Linked DNA regions of Homo sapiens: all the other regions are linked to region 3. Evidence: promoter capture Hi-C in 16 types of primary human blood cells and fetal thymus (Javierre and others, 2016). All regions are on one chromosome and are shown on one strand. The core of a region is centred on a gene start or on the middle of the fragment in contact, and the rest is flanking DNA. Distances in the headings are between cores, read along the strand shown.

Region 1 (3,768 bases), core at 169-2,668, 4.4 Mb before region 3:
ACTTAAGCATCTGCAATGGTGACTTCCACCTCAACTCCTGGCTCAATACTGATGGAAGTAATCTGCTTAACAATCTCAGAAGGACTGTGCAAGTCAATGAGTCGCTTGTGAATTCTCATCTGGAAACGATCCCACGTCTTAGAACCTTCACCACAAGGAGTTTTTCTTGTAGTGATTCTCAAAGTCTGTAACAAAAGACAAAGGAAACCAAGTGTTTATCGTTTTATACTTATCCCTAGAACATCTGGAAAATCATTACTTCTAATCATTTCATTAGTTTCCCTTTGGTATGATTCCAATTTACACTAATAGATTTTCAGGTACCATGGGTTGAAAATGCCAGGTCTGTTTTCACTGTGCTAGGACACCACCCTTAGAGCTTGCGCCTGTTAAGCACCAAAGCACACCAAGAACACAGCAACAATAATTCAACAATCATATCTAAACATTAGCTACTTACTAGGAACCGCAATCTACCACCGATTTCTATGTGCGTTTGTAGACAGCATCAGTGTTAACAATTTTGGCAGCCGAACTCCTTAAAGAACCTGAATTTATGCAACATCCGGAAGCAACTCCTACTTCCTGCCCCTCCGATTTACTTTACCTTGGTAGGCATTCGAACTGGTCCTTTCACTTTGAGATTCTTTTCTTTTGCGCCTCTTATCAAGTCAGCACACACTACAGGAAATAAAAGACCTCTCAGTATAATCGAAACAATTAAAATCGGCTTAAGGCCTTCACTTCTGCTGGCTCAGAATAGCGTATAAAATTATCACCGTTACTCAACACAATAGGTACCTCCTCATCGCCAGCTGTATGACAGTAAAAGCAATTTTAAGCCACGCTTTACTTTTTTAAGTAACTTGTCACTTTAGTTCTTGCAGTCCACCTTCTACACTAACATTAACGAGTAAAGCTCGTCGCTTTTCGCCCAATTCCCCCTCCCCCCCGCATAACGAATGCACTGACCCTTTTCCAAGGATTTTACGTTGCGGCTTGTTAGGGTGATTCGAATTCGGTGAATTGCCACCTCCGGCTCCACGGGTGTTTTTCCGGTATCCTTAAAAGCCTATTATTAGATACATGAAAAAGAACAATAAGCCAAAAATGGTCTGCCACTTCTGGAGAAAGGCAGCTTCCGGAAGCTTCCCGCGTTTCCCCACCATTTCAGGAGCGCCTTTCCGCCCCTACACGCCCCGGCATCTGCCCTCAGGAGCACGAACTCGAAACCGGGGTCCCCCCGGCGCCCGAGCCCTGCGTTGCGCCGCCCGCCGCCGACTGCCGCCTCACCATGGCTGTTGCGCGCGGGCTTCCTGACCGACTTGTTCCTCGGCGAGAGCGAACAGCGGTGAGTCAGGAGCAGGAGCGTGCGGACCAAAAATCCTCAGCCCTTACGACCGCGTCTTCCTCAAAAAGAAAGGGGTGGGACTTGAGCAACGCTTATATAGCACGCTTGCATCCGGGTCCCACACGCCCCGGAACAGGAAATATCCCGGGCCCTAGAGGCGGTCGCACAAGGGCGAGCTGGAGCACTAGTGGAGTTGGCGGGAAAGGCACGGCTGCGGGCGCCCCCTGTCCGCACGGAGGAGCCGAAGTCCCGCAGGGTGGGGTCCCCGCCTGCGCCGAGAGGGCCACCTGGTCGAGAGAACAGGCGACACGGAAACCTGAGAAACTCCTCTGTCTGGTGCACCTAACCCTCTTCCTCATAAAGTGCACACGAACTCTGGTTTTTCCGTTGCAAATTTTGCTTTCTACATAGACCATACCATTCGTTGCTCTCTGAGGATGAGGTAACTTCTCTGAGCTTAGCTGACATGAGCATTGGCAGAAATGCTTCTCGTAATCTGGATAACTTACGTTAGAATTAGTAAGCAGTTATTTTTCATAGCCTGAAACGTCCTGTTGTGATATTTCAGCTCCTGGCTTCCCAGTCCAGCAGAAGTATCTACATCTATTTCTGGAAAGGACCTGAACTTGGCTTCTCGTCCTTCTGGAAAGTGAGGCGAAAATGCCAGGCTGCGCAGCTATCCTGAGGCCCGGCCTGGAACCTGGCTAGCCACCCAGTCCTGATACCTCATCTCCTTTCTGTTGGATAAAGTCATTGGATAAGATCCCCCAGGGTCTTCTTAATACTGAACATCTGTTCATAATCACATAAGTGACCAAGTATAGTGGAAAACCCGAATGGTCAACTGAGCTGAGCAGTGGGAGAGAGCGCAGGGTGAGCTCACCTACACCTGAGCAAGAAGCCGGGGCTAAATACGTGGAAATCACTGAGATGGATTTTGATACAGGGCAGAAAGAAGAGTAAAATCATCTCATATTACTTTCCACCTGAAGCTCTGAGCCGAAAGAGTTATTTGCTCAAACACTCTGAAATGGGGAGGGACAGAGCTCTGACCCCTCCGTCCAGGCCTGTTTGTTGTTTTTTTTTTTTGTTTGTTTTGTTTTTTTTTTTTTGTGAGACGGAGTTTCATTCTTGTTGCCCAGGCTGGAGTGCCATGGCGCGATCTCGGCTCACCGCAAACTCCGCCTCCTGGGTTCAAGCGATTCTCCTGCCTCAGCCTCCGGAGTAGCTGGGATTACAGGCATGCGCCACCATGCCCGGCTAATTTTTTTTTTTTTTTTTTTTTTTTTAGTAGAGACGGGGTTTCTCCATGTTGATCATGCTGGTCTCAAACTCCAGATCTCAGGCCCGCCTCGGCCTCCCAAAGTGCTGGGATTACAGGCGTGAGCCACCGCGCTCGCCCCGTCAGGACTCTTTCTTGAGGTTTTGTCTTCTGTTCCTTGGTAGGAAATTATGTTTGAAACTTTAATCAAATAATAGCATTGTCTTATTTGGTGATAATTGGAACATAACTAATAACTGGGTTTCTTTGGCTCACGATACGTATGAGGTTTTTTGCTGCCATTTTAACAATTATTTTAAATTTTCAAATTTGGATGTTTTCCAGTTCAGTTTTTTGGGTTTTTTGTTTGTTTGTTTTTTGAGATGGAGTCTCGCTCTGTCGCCGAGGCTGGATGCAGTGGCACGATTTTGGCTCCCCGCAACCTCCACCTCCTGGGTTCAAGCAATTCTCCTGCCTCAGCCTCCCGAGTAGCTGGGACCACAGGCACGTGGCACCACTCTCAGCTAATTTTTTGTGTTTTTACTAGAGACGGTGTTTCACCGTGTTAGCCAGGATGGTCTCAATCTCCTGAACTCGCGATCTGCCTGCCTTGGCCTCCCAAAGTGCTGGGATTACAGGTGTGAGCCACCTATCCCGGCCCCAGTTCAGTTATTTTTAAATGTAATCCATTGTCTGTAAATACTCTCTTAGTAGAATTTTCAGCAGAAATTCTGAAAACCTGCATTCTTATTGTGCTAGCTGTAACCTGAGACTTCATAACTTAGAGGTTTAACTTATTGGTATGGCTGTGTGCGACAAATAGACAAAAGCACAATTGCCCTGCTCCCTGGGGTGTGATCAGCCACCGCTGTAGTACTGCCTGGAGGTGACTGTGCATATTTTAAGTGAACATATACAGCGGCATTCATGTTTTACTAATGCTCAAAGATGACTGGAAATTCAATGAAGGAATTTCATTGAGAAGTACAATTGTAATTTTGTACAAGTGTGATTTTTTTTTTATAACAAATCTGGTACATCTTTTTCTTAGGCTTACCTCATCCTTTAAGTATTTGAGGAACTGGTGAACAAGTTAACTACTTTGATAGTAAACGAGGAAATTTCTTTATAGAGAAAAGCAAAATGTGGCCCAGCA
Region 2 (3,273 bases), core at 322-2,821, 3.5 Mb before region 3:
AGTGACTCTAAGATTATTCTCATGGTGAAACCCCGTCTCTACTAAAAATACAAAAAATTAGCTGGGCGTGGTGGCGGCACCTGTAGTCCCAGCTACTTGGGAGGCTGAGGCAGGAGAATGGCATGAACCTGGGAGGCAGAGCTTGCAGTGAGCTGAGATTGTGCCACTGCACTCCAGCCTGGGCGACAGAGCGAGACACCATCTTTAAAAAAAAAAAAAAAAAAAAATTCTAGCTGGACAATCTTTGGCAAATTATTTAGCCTCTCCAAGTCTTTATCTGAAAAACAGAGGCTGTAGTACTTAACCTCCTTTGTTGTTGTGAAGATAAAATTAATAATGTCATTAAGAAGTTTAATTCAATTTTTGTGGCTTGCAGAAGGCTATGCAAATGTTAGCTAGTAAAACAAGCTCAGCATAACTTCCCCACTGCTTGAGTCCTGGTCCTCATCTCTCCCATGGCCTGTTTTAACAGTCTCTAACTAGTTCCTATCTACCTCCAAATGCCCAAAGCCCAAAGTATGGCTTATTGCAGGCCTCAAGAAAAGTCAGCTAAATCTGGCCTTCTTTTAGTATTCTACTAGTAAACCATGGACTAGGTCCAAATTCCTTTGAGCTTGGAATATGACCTAGCCCCTACCTACCTTTCCAATCTCTTCCACAATAATTCTCCCAAGTGCATTTTACTCAAACTCATTAGATTACAAGAATTAGCTGTCCTACTATCTCTCTTGGGCCTGTTCCTTTGAACTAGATTCTTTTCCTCTGTTTTCAGTGCTTATGTCTACACCAATTACTAGTTATTCTGATTTTACAGAAGAGGAAACTATGGCTCAAAAAAGTTAAATGACTGGCCAGTACCACCTAGGCTGGTGACTGCACAACATGTCAATGCAAGTGCTCTGTGCACTATATTAGTGCTTCTCAAACTTTTCTGGGACATACTTCTGTTGAAAGAGAGAAGCTTAACTTCCATCTTATAGGTCAAGGAAGGCACAGACCCAAGTGGCTGCTACCAGCTTGGAGTACCATGCTTTACCTTCAAATAAGTCATTGTCAAAACTTTGAACAAATCAAGTTGAGGACAGGAGCCCCTCAAACAGACAGTCCCCTGTACATTAAATCAAAACTATAAATCTCAGTTTGTCTGTTCTGTGGCTGCAAACCCACTCCACAAAAGTATCTTCAGCCTTCATTTTCATTGTTACCTGCAAGGATAAAGAGACAGTGCCATACAAATGGCTGGAGTTACTATTACTTTGACACAATGAAGTCAAGCATTGCCAAAGTGTTTAGGAAGAGGAGACTAGCTGCCCAGAGGACTCTCTGGGATCTCTAACCTGAAGAAAACTGAAGACAAAAGGAAATCCAGGGAGCCTAGGTGAAATCTGAGTTTTGTTAGGATAGCACTCACTTCTCTGGAGTATGATTCCTCAACTTGGGCATCAATTGACAAATGGAGCAGATAATTCTTCGTCATAGGGGGCTGTCCTGTGCATTATAGGATGTTTACCCTCTACCTACTAGATGCCAGTAGCATCCCACCCCTGGTTGTGACAATCAAAAATGTCTTCCGACGTTGTCAAATGTCAGTTAGGGGACAAAACTGTCTCCAGTTGAGTGCTCTAGGATAACCCCTGGTATATCCTTTTACTGAGGAGTGAACATTACATACGAAAGCTCAGACTTCAGACTCTACATAGGAAAGTAGTGGGAGAAAACAGATCTTTCTACATTTACATAGGGCACTAGGATAAAAGAAAGAAGTATCTGTTGCTTCTCAATGGTCTTTTTCCACTAGGAAGTAAACTAAGTGGGATATAATTTAAGTTTCTTACCAAGAAATTTGGGGTGAGGCTTCAAAATTAACCAGGGATTTAAGACTGTACTTCTGGGCATTAGGAGAGGGGAAGGCAAAAAAGGAGAAAGACTCCTTTTAGGTTGATTCTCCACTTAGTTGGCTACAATATTTGGCCTCTAGCCTATAACACAGGGGTATAAGGAGATCGCTCAACATGACACCATCCCTACTTTGACACTGTATAAATGATCACAAACCTCTTCTATTCCTTCAGTCATGACCCAACATGAATACTACAGAAGCACATGCAAACATTCAAATAGTCACAAGAAAACAAGAAGTTGTTTTATATTAAGCCAGAGACTTCAACATCTGCAATTCCAAAAGCTTAGCTTTTATGTTAATAAAATGCAGCTCACTGCCCTTGGCAGCCATTCCCTTATTGTTTGCTAATAAATGAGAATGCACACACATACAGATGTGTTTTCAACATTTAAGATACTTTTGTTTTTACTTAAAAAAAGAAAAATCAACTCTGCTTGCTGTATTTCACTATTACTGCTTTTAAGCTTCTACAATTATAAGTTTTAAATAGCCTTCTAAAAATCTAGCTAAAATGTGGGATAGTTCATATAAGCTGGAGTGTCACGAGCCTCAGATTTCCCGTTTGTATAGTAGGCAGAAATAAAATTTACTTCTTAAAGTTGCTGTTAAGGATCAAATGAAGTCCTGTGTAGCCAGTATTTGGGCATGTAAAATATATTCAATAAATGGTTATTATTAGTACTGTTATAACCATTAAATAGCAACTTCTCTGAATCTCCTGTTTCCTCTATAAATTCTTGGGGAAGGAAACACGTATGTTTTGGAAAGGGGGTAAAATATTTCATAAACACACCTTACATCTAGATGCAAAAAAATTTAAGTATTATTTGTGATGATAAAAACAGAGTAGGGAAGAAGAAAAAGTGGAAATATTCTGTGTTTTAAGTAGAAATTTGAAAAAAAAAATTCTAACGTTAATTACATCTGGTATCCAGTAGCTCATGTTAGGAAATACAATGTTCCTTTCCACTGGAAAAAGAAAAAGACGAAAGAAAAGGGAGGAAGAGAGGAGAATAAAAAACAAAACCAAAGCAATATTATGATAGACTGGAAGAAGCCTTATGCAAAATACATAACTAAACAATGACAATATTCTCCTAACTCTTTCAAGATCAGCAGTAAAAGGTCAGTCACCTTCCAAAGAAGCCTGGGTTTGCACATCACTGTTTATCTAATAAAATTCCAGTGAAGACAATTTTTCTTCCCAGTAGCCAAAACTACAGTTAGGTGAGTTAAGATATACGTTAATAAGGTGCTGCTACGCTATGCTGAGCTCTTCCTCAACAAAATTTGCAGTTTCTGGAACTGCAAATTTTAAATATGCTTTATTCAACTCAATAGCAGCTCCAGTGAAATGATGAATTCAAAAA
Region 3 (3,619 bases), core at 860-3,359:
ACCTGGCACAAGAGACCTCTCCAGGTACTCTCCTCCTCTAACAGTGTAGGAATACTCCTGACTCCTAGGATGCCAGGCATTTGTATAACATCCTAATAGAGTTGTGCTGGTGAAGGAAGGCCACATCCCTCTATCTTGTGAGAGTGAAGACTTGAGTTTCTCCATCACCAAGGAAGACTTGGGTGAAGGCACTCAAGTGGGAGGGACAAAATGACATCTGAAAACTGGAGGCCTTGGGCAGGGACCTCCCCTTCCTCAAACTAAAGGTGAATGAACCAAATTTTGCGATTCCAGGTAGCTTTTCATGTCAAATTTTCATGTCAAATTCTTCCGTGCCATCTCTGACCCTTTAGTAAAATCCCCTCCAAATATTCCAGAAAAACCTTGTGAGTTCATATTTGGCAAGGCCATCCAAAGCATGTTAGCAACCCAGCATGATGGTGTCAGTACTAATTACATAATGAGAGGCCCCAAAGAGAAGAGTATTAGGCAACAGGAACGAGGGCCACTAAATCCCAATCGCTTTTCCCCAGCAATGATTCTCCTTCAATATGAGGTTATGGGTTATGAGGATATGAGTTAGTCAATTAGCTTCCTTATGCAACTTCAAATTCCCTGAACAGATCCAGGAATTTTGCACATTCTGTTCCTTGTCCATAAACTTTGGTTCCCCTCCCCAAACTGTTGTTCTTTCGACAAACTCTATACATAATTCATATTCCTGGCTCAGAAATCATAATCTCTAAGTAACCTTTCCTGACACCCTATTCTCCACCTCCTCTTCCATAACCTGTGGTCTTTTTGAACAGAGTGGTGACATTTTGGGCTGGATGACTGAAAAAGCAAAGTAGAAAAACAGAACATAGAACATACAGGGCCTCCAGTTGCTGTGCCTGGCGGTACATGAAACATAGTATTCAATAACTATTCTTTGAATGCACAGTCATTTTGTTTTTTCCTTTAACAGTATTTCCTAATAGGTAACTCATGAACACTGCAAAAAATGTCAAACTGCACAAAAAAATTCAGGGAAAAGTACATTTTCCCCCCAATCCCATTCCCTCCTTTCTCTTAATACCAGTTAGCTTTCCTTTCAGATTGATTATGCATATATGGGTATGTAAATGTTTTCCCACTATTTGTTACACATAAAAATTATATACAATTCATATATTACATATGGTGCATGTTATATACACACACATAAACAGATCATCTCGGTTTTGCTTAACCTAAGTCAGGCTTTTTTTTTTTTTTTTTTTTTAGAGCAGCCCTCAGAACCAGGACAGGTTCAGAGACTTTATTTATTTTTTATTTACTATTATTATTTTGAGACGGAGTCCCGCTCTGTCGCCCAGTCTGGAGTGCCGTGGTTCAATCTCGGCTCACTACAACCTCCACCTCCCAGGTTCAAGTGATTCTCCTGCCTTAGACTCCGAGTAGCTGGGATTACAGGCGAGCACCACCACGCCCGGCTAATGTATTTTTAGTAGAGACGCGGTTTCGCCATGTTGGCCAGGCTGGTCTCGAACTCCTGACCTCAGGTGAGAGCAACGTAGTACTCCACTGTGCGTGCATACCATGATTTACTTTGCAGTCCCAGATTTACGGTTTCCAATTTATAAATACTGCCATTTTCACCTTCAAGCCCCGATGCCAAACACAGAAATACCAGGCCACCCCCACCCCCTCGCCGTGTGCCTCCCACATTTTCACACACATTTTCAGGAGCCCAGGGCGCAGCCTCACACCGAACGCCGCCTCTGCCGTCCCCTCACTTGCCCCGTGCCCCCACCGCAGGGCTGAAGGCGACGGAACCGAGCCTTTGTACCCCCACCAGCCCCGTTCCCTGGCGTCTCCCGGCCGCCGGGCTCGCCCGCTCAAACGTGGCGGAACAACCGGAGCCGGGCCCCGCCCTGCTGGAAGACAGGGCGGACCGGGCAAGGCAGGCGCGGGGCGGGGCGGGGCGGGGCTCCGGCTGGCGGGGCGCGGCCAGCGTGCAGGGCTGGGCCAGCGTGCGGGGCTCCTCCCCTTTCCTCCGGCGGCGCCGGCGGCCGCAGAACTTCCGGGTCGGCGCGGAGGCGGGGCGGAGGCGCCGCGGCGGCTGTTATTGTTCGGCTGGGCTCGGTCGGGCGCTGTCTCCCTCGGCTCTGCGGGTGTCAGTTCGTCCGGCTTCCTCACAGCCCCTCACTCCCGGCGGCTGACAGCAGCAGCGGCGGCGGCGGGCGGCGCCTGGCGTTTCGAGGCTGAGCGGCACCGGGGTTGGGGCGCGGAGGAGGAGCAGCAGCGGGAGGAGGAGCCGTGTGCCCTGGCACTGAGCGGCCGCGGCCATGGCGTACGCCTATCTCTTCAAGTACATCATAATCGGCGACACAGGTGAGGGCCCCGGGCGCGGCCGGGCGGGTGTCGGCGGCCTCCGGACCCGGGCTGAGGGGCAAACGGCGTCTGGCGGTGGCGGGGACGCGGACTCCACCCGGCGCCTCCCTCCTGGCCGCGCCGCTCCATTTCCGCAGTGCTGGAGCTGGTGACGTGGGCACTGCGAGCGGCCGCGGCCTGGCCAGGCCCGGTCTGCGGCCCCCGACCCGGCCAGTCTTGCAGCTGAGGGCCGTGGCAGCCGTTTGCGACGCCCGATTCAGGAAGTGTGTGACAGGAGGGGAGGCCTAGCGCAGGGCCGCCGGGGCCCGACTCACATGACTGCACCCCACCCCCAGGGCCCCTTGCGTTAGGTCTCTTCGCGGCCCCAGGAAAAAGAAGGAGGGAAACCTAGGGGAGCAGAAGGTGTTGGGGCCCGGGTCTTGGTTCCTGACCAGTCCAACCTTCCTCCACCAGCACGCATCTATCAAGGCCTGGGCAAGGCGCTTTTTGGCGTGGGACAGGCAGCCGAGAAAGAGAAAAGGAAACCTTTAAAATATGTATTTTATATATATACATATATATAAAATATGCTTTTTTAACACCTTCAACTCTCACGTCAGAATAAGTCACATCTCATTACTTGACGGCTGGAGAATCCCTTTCGGGGTTAGGAAAGCATGAACGAGTTCTGTGGACTTTTGCCACGTGTGAACTGGGGTTATATAGTAATGTAAAGTCGTTCAGTGCTCTGGGTGTGTACTTAGGTATGTGTATGTTGAGGACGCTGATGTTTTAGATATGTCAAGTCCGGTGTCACAACTGCTAATTTTCAGGTGAGCTCATGTCCATGAGCTGAAAGAAATTCAGTTATTCTCACTTAAAATGACGTCCTAGTATATTTCACAGAAAAGTAAACAGACTCTTCGTAGATATTTTTAATACCTGTGATTTGGCATTACTTTGAATCTAATAATAAACATAAAGATTGTTTAGATGTTGCAACTATTAATATACCAGAGTCTGATTTCAGTGGTTACTCTTGCACAACTTTGGACCCTTTGCACAACTTCGGTCATGTAAGCAGCAGTTTGTAGTTGAACTAATGATGTGGCAGGTTCTATAAGTAACTAAAGAAGCATGTTGGCCGGACGCGGTGGCTCACACCTGTAATCCCAGCACTTTCGGAGGCCGAGGTGGGGGATCACCTGAGATCAGGAGTTCGAGACCTGCTTGGCCAACGTGGTGAAACCCCGTCTCTACTAAA

Evidence for each region. The method cuts DNA at HindIII sites, captures the fragments that hold promoters and counts their contacts. A CHiCAGO score of 5 or more calls a contact.
Region 1: a contact is called between the fragment with the promoter of RPS20 here and the fragment with the promoter of RAB2A in region 3, in 4 of 17 cell types (fetal thymus, activated CD4 T cells, naive CD4 T cells and 1 more). The highest score is 12.3, in fetal thymus.
Region 2: a fragment that was not itself captured here is called in contact with the fragment with the promoter of RAB2A in region 3 in 6 of 17 cell types (total CD8 T cells, naive CD8 T cells, activated CD4 T cells and 3 more); the score reaches 11.6 in total CD8 T cells.

The regions. Positions count from the first base shown.
Region 1 is chr8:56,073,088-56,076,855 of GRCh38, forward strand. It overlaps RPS20 (ribosomal protein S20), which reads right to left and starts at 1,419. Exons shown (of 4, transcript NM_001023.4): 1 at 1,294-1,419; 2 at 973-1,072; 3 at 608-681; 4 at 1-185. The coding sequence starts at 1,296. The coding sequence ends at 3. SNORD54 (small nucleolar RNA, C/D box 54) reads right to left here and starts at 814; the gene lies at 752-814. CERNA3 (competing endogenous lncRNA 3 for miR-645) reads left to right here and starts at 1,505. Exons shown (of 2, transcript NR_149110.1): 1 at 1,505-1,793; 2 at 1,920-2,187. The HindIII fragment of the contact is 15,741 bases long and covers 1,147-3,768 here.
Region 2 is chr8:56,989,167-56,992,439 of GRCh38, forward strand. All of the region lies in intron 1 of BPNT2 (3'(2'), 5'-bisphosphate nucleotidase 2), which reads right to left. Among named protein-coding and RNA genes, the nearest start is that of BPNT2, 3.1 kb to the right of the region's middle. The HindIII fragment of the contact is 1,224 bases long and covers 960-2,183 here.
Region 3 is chr8:60,514,878-60,518,496 of GRCh38, forward strand. RAB2A (RAB2A, member RAS oncogene family) reads left to right here and starts at 2,110. Exons shown (of 8, transcript NM_002865.3): 1 at 2,110-2,376. The coding sequence starts at 2,331. It overlaps LOC124901949 (a long non-coding RNA gene), which reads left to right. Exons shown (of 3, transcript XR_007060922.1): 3 at 1-1,921. RefSeq lists enhancers at 1,258-2,118, 3,354-3,543 and a silencer at 1,694-2,563. The HindIII fragment of the contact is 4,226 bases long and covers 1-3,619 here.